Regions from separate parts of the Homo sapiens genome. Here region 1 is linked to region 2. Evidence: promoter capture Hi-C in human tissues and cell types (Jung and others, 2019). All regions are on one chromosome and are shown on one strand. The core of a region is centred on a gene start or on the middle of the fragment in contact, and the rest is flanking DNA. Distances in the headings are between cores, read along the strand shown. Region 1 has its middle 38 kb from the start of ATP12A. Region 2 holds the start of AMER2 (APC membrane recruitment protein 2).

Region 1 (5,580 bases), core at 2,308-4,807, 530 kb before region 2:
AGGCAGGTGGATCACGAAGTCAGGAGATCGAGACCATCCTGGCTAACACGGTGAAACCCTGTCTCTACTAAAAATACAAAAAAAAAATTACTGGGCGTGGTGGTGGGTGCCTGTAGTCCCAGCTACTCGGGAGGCTGAGGTAGGAGAATGGCGTGAACCCAGGAGGCGGAGCTTGCAGTGAGCCGAGATCACACCACTGCACTCCAGCCTGGGCGACAGAGCGAGACTCCGTCTCAAAAAAAAGAGGAAAAAAAAAAAAAAGAACATAGGACCTGTTAACAGTAGACAAATCTATTTTTCCCACCGCTTTTGTATTGCACCATCTACTGATGGTATTTGGGAAAGAAAAGGAAATTTTGTCACAGAAGTCACATAATTCTATGGTGTCATTTTCTTGTCCCTCAGCGGGACTCTCTGTGACTGAGGGCCTAAGAGTCAAAAGACTTATAGCCAATTAATTGTTCTAGGCCAGATAGGAGTGGATGTGGACAGGCATTCATTACGTCTAAAAATTATTATTTTAAGTTAAAAAAAAAGCTGACAAACAAAACCAAAAGGCAAAGTTACAAGACTGACTTATTTTTAACTTCTATGTGTTGAGTTACTGTAAGCTTGGTTTTTGTTACAGACTTATAGCAATCAGCTATACAAAACCTAAGCCTTGTTCTGAAAAATAATTGAAAATATGTATATATATAGATATAGATATATTTATCTTTACAACTCATAATTTGAAGTATTATACCCAGTAGGCTTTGTTCCGAGGTATTTTTATCCTGTTAGTAAATATTTTTCTTTAATTCTATCGTAAGCAGAAAATTTTTATGGTAGGGGTGGATGCAACAGTAGCACATCATACTTTGGGAGGCAACTAAACTTGTTTTACCAGCTGTTTAGGCATTTTTGTACCCCTTCTTGGTTTGGAGGGTTTGACCTTGACCTAATTTTATCCCTCAAAACCAGCCCTTACAGTCTAATGCACCCATCTCCTCCACGATAGTACCTGGGCCTAAAAAGGGAGGCTGCTTGTCTATAGTCTTAGCAGCAGAGTATCAGCAGTGAAACAGATTCCGGCCCAGTGGGGTGCCACATGAGGGAGATTCATATCTCTGGTCTTCAGAATACCATGATTTTGGTCTCTGTGGAAGTAAAACAAGGAGAGATAAATAACACTTCTAGTTTGACAATTATAAGAGTAATTTGTGGCCGGATGCAGTGGCTCACGCCTGTAATCCCAACACTTTGGGAGGCTGAGGCGGGTGGATCACCTGAGGTCAGGAGTTCAAGACCAGCTTGGCCAACATGGTGAAATTCTGTCTCTACAAAAATACAAAAATTAGGTGAGCATGATGGCGAGTGACTGTAGTCCCAGCTACTCAGGAGGCTGAGGTAGGAGACTCGCTTGAAGCCAGGAGGCAAAGGTTGCGGTGAGCTGAGATCACACCATTGCACTTCAGCCTGGGTGACAGAGCGAGACTCCATCTTAAAAAAAAAAAAAAAGTATTTGTATGTCAGAACAGAAAAAGAAACCTCTTCTATTAGGGTACCAACTAAAGATATGAAGAAAAATTATAATCTGGTACTCTCTATAGGATTATTGTAGCCAAGAAATGACTTAATCTGCATTCAAAAAAAGTTAGGGCTGAAATCTAGTATTAAGTGTTACACTTTTCCCTTGAAACAAGCTTCTCTAGCTGCTTTTTTTTTTTAATTAAAGAGAAATTATAGCAACACCAATTTGTGTGCCAGGCAAGTTTTAGGTTTATTATGCTTGCATGGTTATTTGCATAAAATGCAGCAAGAATTCATTGGCCATATATACTCCTTTTGAGTTGGCTTTGCTGGAACTATACCTAACAATACGCTATTTTAGTTTAAGTCTTGGAAAAATAACCGGTGCCTCCAATTTTTTTTTTTTTTAAACTCTTATTGAACTTATGCGGACAACTATATCGTCACAAAATTACAATCTGAATTTTGGTGAACCCAAAAGGTAAGTTTGCTTACAAAAACACAATTTACTCCTCCCCCAAAAAAGACAAAATAAAAAATAAACATACTTTAGCCAAATAGCTTAAAAGAAAAAGAAAGATTTTCTTAACCTTTCTTTAACCAGAGCAGCAGCTTTAAAACCAGATGCTTGTTTACCTTGGAAATGCCAATTACAAACAAAACAGCTCATGAGAGCTGTCTATCAGGCACTGTAGCATTTAGTAGCTCCTCACAATTAGTTCTAGGAAAGAGGCTCTCTTCTTATTAGGTAGCAAGATTTTATGTAAACCATTTTTATTTTATCACAGAACTCTTTGGGGAAATATTATTTCTATTAGCATAGGGGTAGCTTCAGTTAATATTTCATGGCAAGGCAATAAATGCCCCAACAAGTGGAAATTCTCTAATTCAGTCATTGTCATTGAAAAGTACTCATGATCTTTGTCATCGGCCCCGATAAATGTTCCACTCAAAGGGCTACGCAGTGGAGGATTTGTCCCGATTAGCACTCCAGCTCCTACCCTATACTTTGTGGGCTTAGACGATTTTACTAGTTCCTATTTAGTGTGTTCAAATAACATTTCCTAGAAGAGCAGATTTACATGCCCTCAGTTTTACAGTACTAGGAAAAGGAAAACGTCCCCCAGTTAGACATAGTACCCATTTTCATAAGACATTTAGGTAAAAGGGGTTACAACTACCTTACATAAAGCTTGTTTAAACATCATAAATTGTATAATTCTATTAAACTCTATGTTTTTATGTTCGGGTCCCAGGAACCCTTTTACACCCCCAGTCTATTTTACCTTTTCTGGTGAAAAGAGTTTGGGTTCCCAGCAGGGAGTTGTGTCTGTAAGACCTGTGAGGGACAGCAAATTGGATAAGGCTTCTTAAACAGTCCTATGATTCTGTGCAAGGGGCACTCATGTAAAAGGGGGCCCCTTAACCCCCAAATTTACCATGACCTTGAGTAGTAGGCATATTTGGTGGGAAGATACCTCAGTTATCATAAAGCCAGTCCAACATGGCTTGCATATGAAGCATGTTAATGCTTCACCTGGGGTGCTTCACTTGGTATTTTATAGAGAGAGTTGGGCAGTCCCCTTCTCAGGGCAAACAGACCTTACTGGATTTATCCAGTCCACTAGGCTGATTCTTTTCTCAGGAATAACCTTCTGTTCATTTGGATCACATATACTCATCAGTGATTGTTCAGTAGTGAGCTGTGGGTCCTGTATTAATCCAAACACGCTCTTAAATTCTGTAGCATTTAAAATGAATAATTTTGTCCTTAAAAGTGGTGGCTTTTACAATCCACTAAAGATTTTTTAAAGAAGCCGAATGATACCAGTCTACAAAATGGAACAATTTACATTATGCCCTCTGGTTTTTAATGATTACTTGGCTTTACCACAGGGTTCAGATTTAACTTTTGTTGCCCTGGCTTGCTTTCTTTTTTAATCCATTTAGTTTTATCTGTATAATTCTCTTTCATTATAAAGCTACTCTTAGTTTCTTAACCAAAAAACTTACATTTTTTTGAAAATTGACATCCTTGTGTTTTATAAAATTTTGCCAAAAGCATATTTTACGCTCCAACTATTTTAAATTTTAGTAACCCAAATTTCCAGTGGGGGAAAAAAACAGGTTTTTAACATGACTTTAAAATTTTAAATTACTGGGGAGAGTTTTAAGATTAAATTTACCAAGTTTATTTTACCGAAGATTACCAAGTCATGTGAATTAAAAGGCATCTGAGCTAGCTTCTACCAATCTGATAAGCACTTAACATTTTTTAAGTTACTTGATTAGAGCTCTTTCATGTAGTTTGGTAGTAAAATATCACTTCCCCATGACACAAATAAAGATAGAGATATAAAAAGCATGCAGAATAAAAAGGCAGTTTCAAAAGATATTTTATTTGCCAATTTTCAAGAAAATTATCTCACTTATTTTAGACAGTTAATAAAAGTAACAGCAGACAACAAAAGGTAAAGAAGAAAGCTACCATTCAAGGCCTTGCCTTTTCACAAGAGAAAGAGTTGAACTTCTGAGCTATCAATCTGAAGAATGTTAAAGACAGATGATAGAATGTTAAAGTTTAAAAACTTCATGCATTAAAAGTCAAATATTTGTAATAAAATATTGATTTGACTATTTAGTTTTGTATTAGTGTACTTTTAAGTATCAAAGACCCATCTCTACAAAGACTATTATAATTTCCTCTTCATTATAACCAACTGAATTACACAACTGTCAGAGGCATGTGAACCAGAGCAACTCTATCTTGAATAAGGGCTGGGTAAAATGAGGCCAAGACCTACTTGGCTGGATTCCCAGACAGTTAAGGCATTCTAAGTCACAGGATGAAATAGGAGATCAGTACAAGATACAGGTTATAAAGACCCTGCTGATAAAACAGTTTGCAGTAAAGAAGCCAGCTAAAACCCATCAACACCAAGATGGCCATGAGAGTGACCTCTGGCCATCCTCACTGCTACACTCCCCCCAGCGCCATGACAGTTTACAAATGCCATGGCAATGTCATGAAGTTACACCATATGGTCTAAAAGGGGAAGGCATGAATAATCTACCCCTTATTTAGCATATAACCAAGAAATAACTGTAAAAATGGGTAACCAGCAGCCCTCGGGGCTGCTCTGCCTTATGGAGTAGCCATTCTTTATTCCTTTACTTTTCCAATAAGTTGCTTTCGCTTTACTCTATGGGCTCGCTCTGAATTCTTTCTTGCATGAGATTCAAGAACCCTTTCTGGAGTATAGTGCTGCAAACACAGCTCACTGTAGCCTCAACCTCCCAGGCTTAAGCAATCCTCCTGCCTCAGCCTCCCGAGTGGCTGGGACTACAGGTGCATGCCACCATGCCCAGCTAAGCTAATTTTTTCTATTTTTTGTAGAGACAAGGTGTCACTATGTTGCCCAGGCTGGTCTCAAACTCCTGGACTCAAACAGTCCTCCTGCCTTGGACTCCCAAAGTGTTGGGATTTCAGGCATGAGCCACCACACTGAGCCAGGTGAGTTTTGACAAATATATACACCCATATGGCCCAGCACCTCAGTCACAATACAGAATGTCTCCATCACCGCACATGGTTCCCAACTCGACCTCAAACCCAAGTGCTATGGAGTCACTGATTCTGATTTTAATATGCTGTATTATTTGCTATAATACAGCATATACATTTCATGTACATTTTTGTGACAAATGATATGTTTTTATTTTCATTTTTATTGGTACAAAATACTTTCTAATTTCTCTTGTGATGTCTTCTTTTACCCATGGTTATATAAGAAATGTGTTACTTAATTTTAAAACATTTGGGGATTTTCCAAATATCTTTTATTGTTGAATTTGTAAAGGATCTATCCAACAAACTGTTGAGCTCACTTAATAGTAGTTACAGTTCATAATGAGATTCTCTTGGATTTTCCTTATAGATATTTCATCTGACAGTATAAATTTTACATCGGCCAGAATCCCCAGTGTAATATTAAACTGTGGAGGTGATAACAGGGATGTTTGTGTCTGATTTTAATGAGCCTCTTTTAAGATTTCACTATTCAGTGT
Region 2 (5,685 bases), core at 2,009-4,508:
AGGTAAATACCTGGCTCTTTCAGCTTTGGAGGTATTTTCCACACAGTGATACAGCAAAGGGTTTTGTTTTTGTTTTTGTTTTTTTTTAACTGGAAAGGAAAGAGGAAAGAAGGGAAGGAAGGAAACGTGTCTTGGAAGAGGAGATCTCCTCTGGTTCTTCAGCGGTTCCTTCAGGCCTCTAGACACTGGCTTATCCCAATATCCAGGCATGACTCTTACTTAGGTTTGGCTAAGTTCTGTTTTCTGCAAAGGCAAGTAAAGGTGACTTCCAAGTGTTCAGTATATTAAAGCAAAAGGAAGAAAAACTTAAAGGTAAAAAAGAAAAAAGTGCTTGAAAATAATTCTCAGGGACTTATCTTGAGAGGAGAAACCCCCGTGTAGCATCCCTCTTTCTGGTGTTATCCGGTCCCTGCTCAGGGCACAAAGACCTCCTCGGTCCACGCTCTGGAGCAGGGCGGGGGACGGGTGGTGTCCTAAAAGACTTTCTTTAGGAAAAGCAAAACTTACTTTAGTGGTTTCCAGGGAAAAGTTGTATTCCTTGGCATGGGGCCCATCCACCTTGGCCTGGAAGACCTCACAACTTTTTGGCACTGTCGTGGCAGGCCGTTGCTCTGATGGTGGTCCCAGCCAAGCCCCGGTTGCTGACTCTGCGGACCAGCACTTTGGAAACCGGGATTTTTGTTCTGGGCATCTCACTCCTGGAGGGTTGCTGGTGCACCACGGGATGGCTAGATGGAAGGTTGGTCAGGTGCTTGATGCTAATAGGGATCTTAGAGTCCTTCAGCAAGCTGCCTGGTGTTCGCAGTGGACAGGTGATGGTGCCTGGAGATACGGGCTTTAACCGGGACAGGGAGGACGTCTCCTCGTTGTCCTTCCCTCCAGGAAGGGTTGCTGGACTTCCGTCCGGGTCAGCATAGAGATCATAGAGCGCGTCCCCGCTGTAGCTATCCCGGGGGATGCCCGCCTTCTTCCCGCTGCTCGAGCTGTCTTCCTCTGGGCCTGGCGTGGTGGAGTCCCAGTAGCCCTCGTCGCTGTTGGGGACGCCTTCCTGCTGCTCCTTCTCCGGGTGCTTGGGCTCCTCCTTAGGATGGGGCTCGATGGGAATCCGGTTGAGCCTCCTGCGCTTGACCGAGGACGCGTCCTTGGCCGCTTCCACACACCTGGTGTCTTTGGGGGTCTCGGGCACCACCTTGGTTTCCAGCGCAGCTGCCACCTTAGCCGCGCCCTCCTGGGGCTCGGGTCCCTGCTCCTCGGTCTGGGAGAGCATGTCCCAGAACTCCTGTAGATAGGTGTCGTCCACCTCGTCCGGGCTGGCCATCTCTTCCCCGCCTCCTTGGTAGGCCACCACGCCGGGGTTCTTTTTAGACAGAGCCGGCTTGCCTGGCCCGGGGACATGCTTGTCACAGCTGGGACCTGCCTCTTCCTCTTGGTCTGCAATAATATCTCCACAGCCTGTAAGAGAGTCAAAGCTTTTCAGTGAAGTCACGTCAGAAAACATCAAACAAATACGATCTGCCGACGGGTCTGAGGGTGGATCGACAGAGGCAGGGTCTGGGGCGGCGGGCGCCCGGCCGCTGCCGCCTTCGGAGTCGACAAGGGGGACCGTCTTTACGGGAACGGCCCCCGTCCTGGAAGCGTCCTCTGCCGTGCGGACCTCCCCGGGCCCCGGCTCGGCGCGCCGATGCCCCGCGGCGTCCTCTCCCCGGGCGCCGGTGTCGCCGGGGTGCGCGAGGCCCTCTGCCTCTCGGCAGCTCCGCGCTGGGGCGCGGTCGGCGGGGGCGGGCACCTCCTCTCCCCCTGCGGGCTCACCTGCTGGGTCTCGCGGGGCGTCCTGGCTGGGCTCCTCCGGCTCGCGCGCGGCTCTGGGCGTCTCCTCCTTGACGCACTCCAGGCTGGCGGTGAGCGAGCCGGGTAGGATCAAGCCGCCCCCGGGCGCGCGCCCCTCCGCGGCCTCCGCCTTGGCCCGCTTGTCTTTCCTGTGCCAGCGCATGCCGCTGAACAGCCCCCGCAGCCCCCGCTTTTGTTTGCCGCCGGCCTTGCTCGCGTCCACAGGCTCTCCCTTGCCGTTTTCCGAGCGCCCGTTCTTCTTCAGCAGCGAGAAGAAGCTGTGCGACTTGGCCACCGAGCTGCTGGCGAGGGAGCCCCCGCCGGGCCCTGCGGCTCTGGGGGGCCCCGGGTTCGGCCGCCCCCCGCCGCCCCCGCCGCTGTCGCCCCCGCCGCGCGGCTCCTCCTTCCTGCCGCTCTCCAGCACCAGCACCTCGGCAAGTCCGTCGTGGGTCCTGCTCCTCACCAGCCCCGTCGGACCCGAGCTTTTCCCGTCCCCTTTGTTTTTGACCCCAAAAATGCTGGGCATGGTGCCACCCGATTTCCTCTTCTTGAATAATTTGAAGGCAGCTTTATTAATCTTCCCCGACGGCGGCTCGGCGGCCGGCGTTTCGGCGGCACAGTCACAATGCAAGTCCATGTCTGCCGCGAGGGTCCCGGTCCCGGCCCCGGCCTCCGCCTTCCTCCTGCAGACCCCCACGGACGCGCCAGCTCCGCCGCGCTCGCTGACAGCCCCGCCGCCGCCGCGGCTCCGGCTCGTCTCCATGGAAACCGCGCGGGATAAGCCGCTTTCGTCAGCAGTGGGCTCGCGCCAGGCCACTGTCACCCGTATTCTAAATCAACCTGAGCCGCGCTCGCCGCCGCCGCTGCAAAAGAAACACACATAAAAGACCATCTTCCCTCCCGCAAGGGCTTATATAATACCCTAACCCACTTCCATCCGACTTGGCTCGGCGCTGCATGGCGTTTTTGTGGCAGGAGCAGGCAACACAGCCGCGAGCTGATTGCAGAAATTCGAGTCGTAATTATGGAATTCAAATTCCCTCAACTCTCACCCACCTTCGGATTCCTTCTCTAGACTCGCTCTTCACGGGAGCGCAACCATGGATCACGAAATGCCTCTAAAAACGACAACGCAATTCAACCCACCACAAAATGCTTGTTTTTCTTATCCTCTCTCCTAGACTCCCTGCATCTTCATGCCTTTCCCAAGCCCTTCATGTCTGTCCTTAGCATTGGTGCACTAAGCCCAGCAGGCAGGAAGCATGTCTGCCTACATCCATGTCTTGTCCAGAGCTGAGCACACGCTAGGTCCATGCTGTGTGGCTGTCATTGTGGTTATGGTTCTTGTGACAAAAGTACACGCCACCACTCAATCAGTCTATCAGCAGCCCAGCAATGCAAGCACAACAGCTCCCCGGGGTGGAGTTTGCCTGCACCTTTGGGACAACCATGACTTTTATCCCAGACTCCAGCCACCACGGGATGAAGTCACAGATGCTGCGGCACAGCCCACATCTGATAACAATAGACAAGCTGACCGAGACACACAGGCTGGGAATCTCAGACCCACTCCACAGGTGGGCCTTCGAGTCCGGGTTCTGCCCTCTCCTTTCCCACTCAGCAGGACAGTGGCATTATTCCTGTCACTGCGGTACCACTCCCCTCCCCCATACCACCAGGGCTGACTTGTAGTCCCCTTCCCCAATGTACAGAGCAGGAAAAGCTTGGCAGGGGTCCCTGTGTGTCCAGGGATCTCTGCAGACATTCCTACCTGCCTGGTCTGGGGAGAGGGAAAACCTTTTTTCTGGGAACAGCTCAGTCTAGGGATCTGTTCTGTGTTCTGATTTAAAAAGTGACTGCTAATATTCTAATCTTGACATCTGATTTCATAATCCCAGCTGAGTGCTTTTTAGCAAAAAGAAATTTGGAGAAGCATATACATATATAAATATAACATGTATATATAGTATATATTATTTAATCATTTGATTATTTATTAAATATCATTTAAGAATATATGTAATAATTACATATATACACAAACAGTAGTCTTTTCCCTACTCATTTTTTATATGCTCTTTGCATTAGGCCAATAAATCCCAATCCCCATCCACATAAGTTGGCGTTTTATAAATGACGTATGTTGGCCATTGCAGCTTCTGTTGTTATGAGATACAGCTGGTTAAAATTTAGACCTTGGAGTTCTTAGTTGTATTATTTCCTTTTTTTGTTTATTTTTTTCAAGAACACTGTTTTGTAAAACGAAGAAATCAATGAGTTCAGGTTCAGGAGAGGTTGTCACTTCCAGACTCTAATCCCATCAACTCTTTCTCACTATTGATGAGCATCTCTCCTGGTACAGGAAGTAAGGTGAGGCCAGAGAGAGGCTTTCCCGGATTCTAATTGACCGCTTGACATGATGAATCAGAGTCCTCAGTGCTTTCTGGGGAGACCACGTGTAAGGAACTGTAAAGAGAAACCCATTTGTTACGTCTTTACAACCTTTTGAAGAACAATAGAAAGTCTCTCAATTTTACACACATACACACACACACACACAAACACACACACACCCATACAGTTGCTTAGATTTGTGGGTTACTATGTAGCTCTGTCAGTTTGGAAGAGTTTGTGACTGGGATCAAGGAAAAGTAAGTCGCCTATTAAAAAATCTCCCTTTCTCCACTGGGAGAAAGTGGTCTGCTTATTCACCCATCAGGACAGGTCAAATGTGACTCTAATTTACATGAGAATCTTTGGGCCTCCTGGGAGAAATCTGATAGAGGACTTTGGGATGGATATCATTCTTTTGGGACATCAACACTCAAACAAAGAGAAAGAGACAAAGCTGTCTTCAGCCTGCGGAAGGTGCCCTCACTGTGAGTTACTGGCCCTGAGATAGAAGAAAGCAGGGACCCCTGGAACAATCTGAAGGCACTGGGCATGGGAGCTGTAGAGGCTGCGGTGTGAGTGAGGACCCTCCAGCGTCCTACTCAAAGTCCTTGTTACAGAGACAGTGGGAAAAACGAGGGTGAAGTCAGCTGAAAGGAACTTACCCCAAAAGCCAGACAGGTAAGGAGAGACTCTGTAGGGGAGAGAGATGAGGCGCAGGATGGTCCAATGGTTTGTTGGTTAGAGCCAGGTTATGAATCATCACAAAGACTGAGCCATACCTTATATTAAACTTCACAGTCAAGAGTGGAGAAAGCAAAATGGTGATTTTTTTTTTCCCTGAGAGACAGAACATGACAGTGAAGATAATTTTACCGTAAGCACTCCCATTTTTGTTTATAGTTTCTTCTTTCATTCTTTTCCCCCATCCTGCCCCAGCTTGGGAGTGAATAGAAAATTAGAGTAGAAAGGAATAGAGAACAGGACCGAGGGGAAACATTTCAGGGAAAAGCCATTCCAAAACAATAAGACGTATCACAAATGCAAACAGCAAGTGGATTTTGCTGGAAGACATGTGTGGGCTTTTCTTTGTTGGCACCAGGAAGTATTTGTCGTTTTGTTGAGGCTTTTTTCTCTAGGTAGTGAGCTTCTCTGGAGGATGGTACTCAAAAGGAAAAAAAAAAAACAAGAGAAACACAGGAAGAACCATTTGAGAACTTAACGTCGTCGTCATCATCATCATCATCATCATCATCATCACATCATCATCACATCATCATTTCCTTTTTTAGGGTGCCTTCAAAGCAGTCCAGCCCTTTGCCCAAAGCTTACTGGGTGGAATTTCTTTCTTTCTCTTTCTTTCTTCTCTTTTCTTTTTCTTTCTTTCCTTTTCTTTCCTTTCTTTCTCTTTCTTTCTCCTCTCCTCTCCTTTCCTTTCCTTCCTTTCCTTCCTTCCCTTCTTCTCTC

The links. Contacts are between HindIII fragments. The study calls those that stand out against the background at their distance.
Region 1: a contact is called between a fragment that was not itself captured here and the fragment with the promoter of AMER2 in region 2, in 1 of the 25 tissues and cell types used here (lymphoblastoid cells).

The regions. Positions count from the first base shown.
Region 1 is chr13:24,639,927-24,645,506 of GRCh38, forward strand. No RefSeq gene overlaps it. Among named protein-coding and RNA genes, the nearest start is that of ATP12A, 38 kb to the right of the region's middle. The HindIII fragment of the contact is 4,818 bases long and covers 1,149-5,580 here.
Region 2 is chr13:25,169,030-25,174,714 of GRCh38, forward strand. It overlaps AMER2 (APC membrane recruitment protein 2), which reads right to left and starts at 3,259. Exons shown (of 1, transcript NM_152704.4): 1 at 1-3,259. The coding sequence starts at 2,590. The coding sequence ends at 575. It overlaps LINC00463 (long intergenic non-protein coding RNA 463), which reads right to left. Exons shown (of 4, transcript NR_120428.1): 3 at 4,884-5,058; 4 at 3,795-4,293. RefSeq lists a silencer at 1,749-1,838 and an enhancer at 4,118-5,317. The HindIII fragment of the contact is 4,196 bases long and covers 352-4,547 here.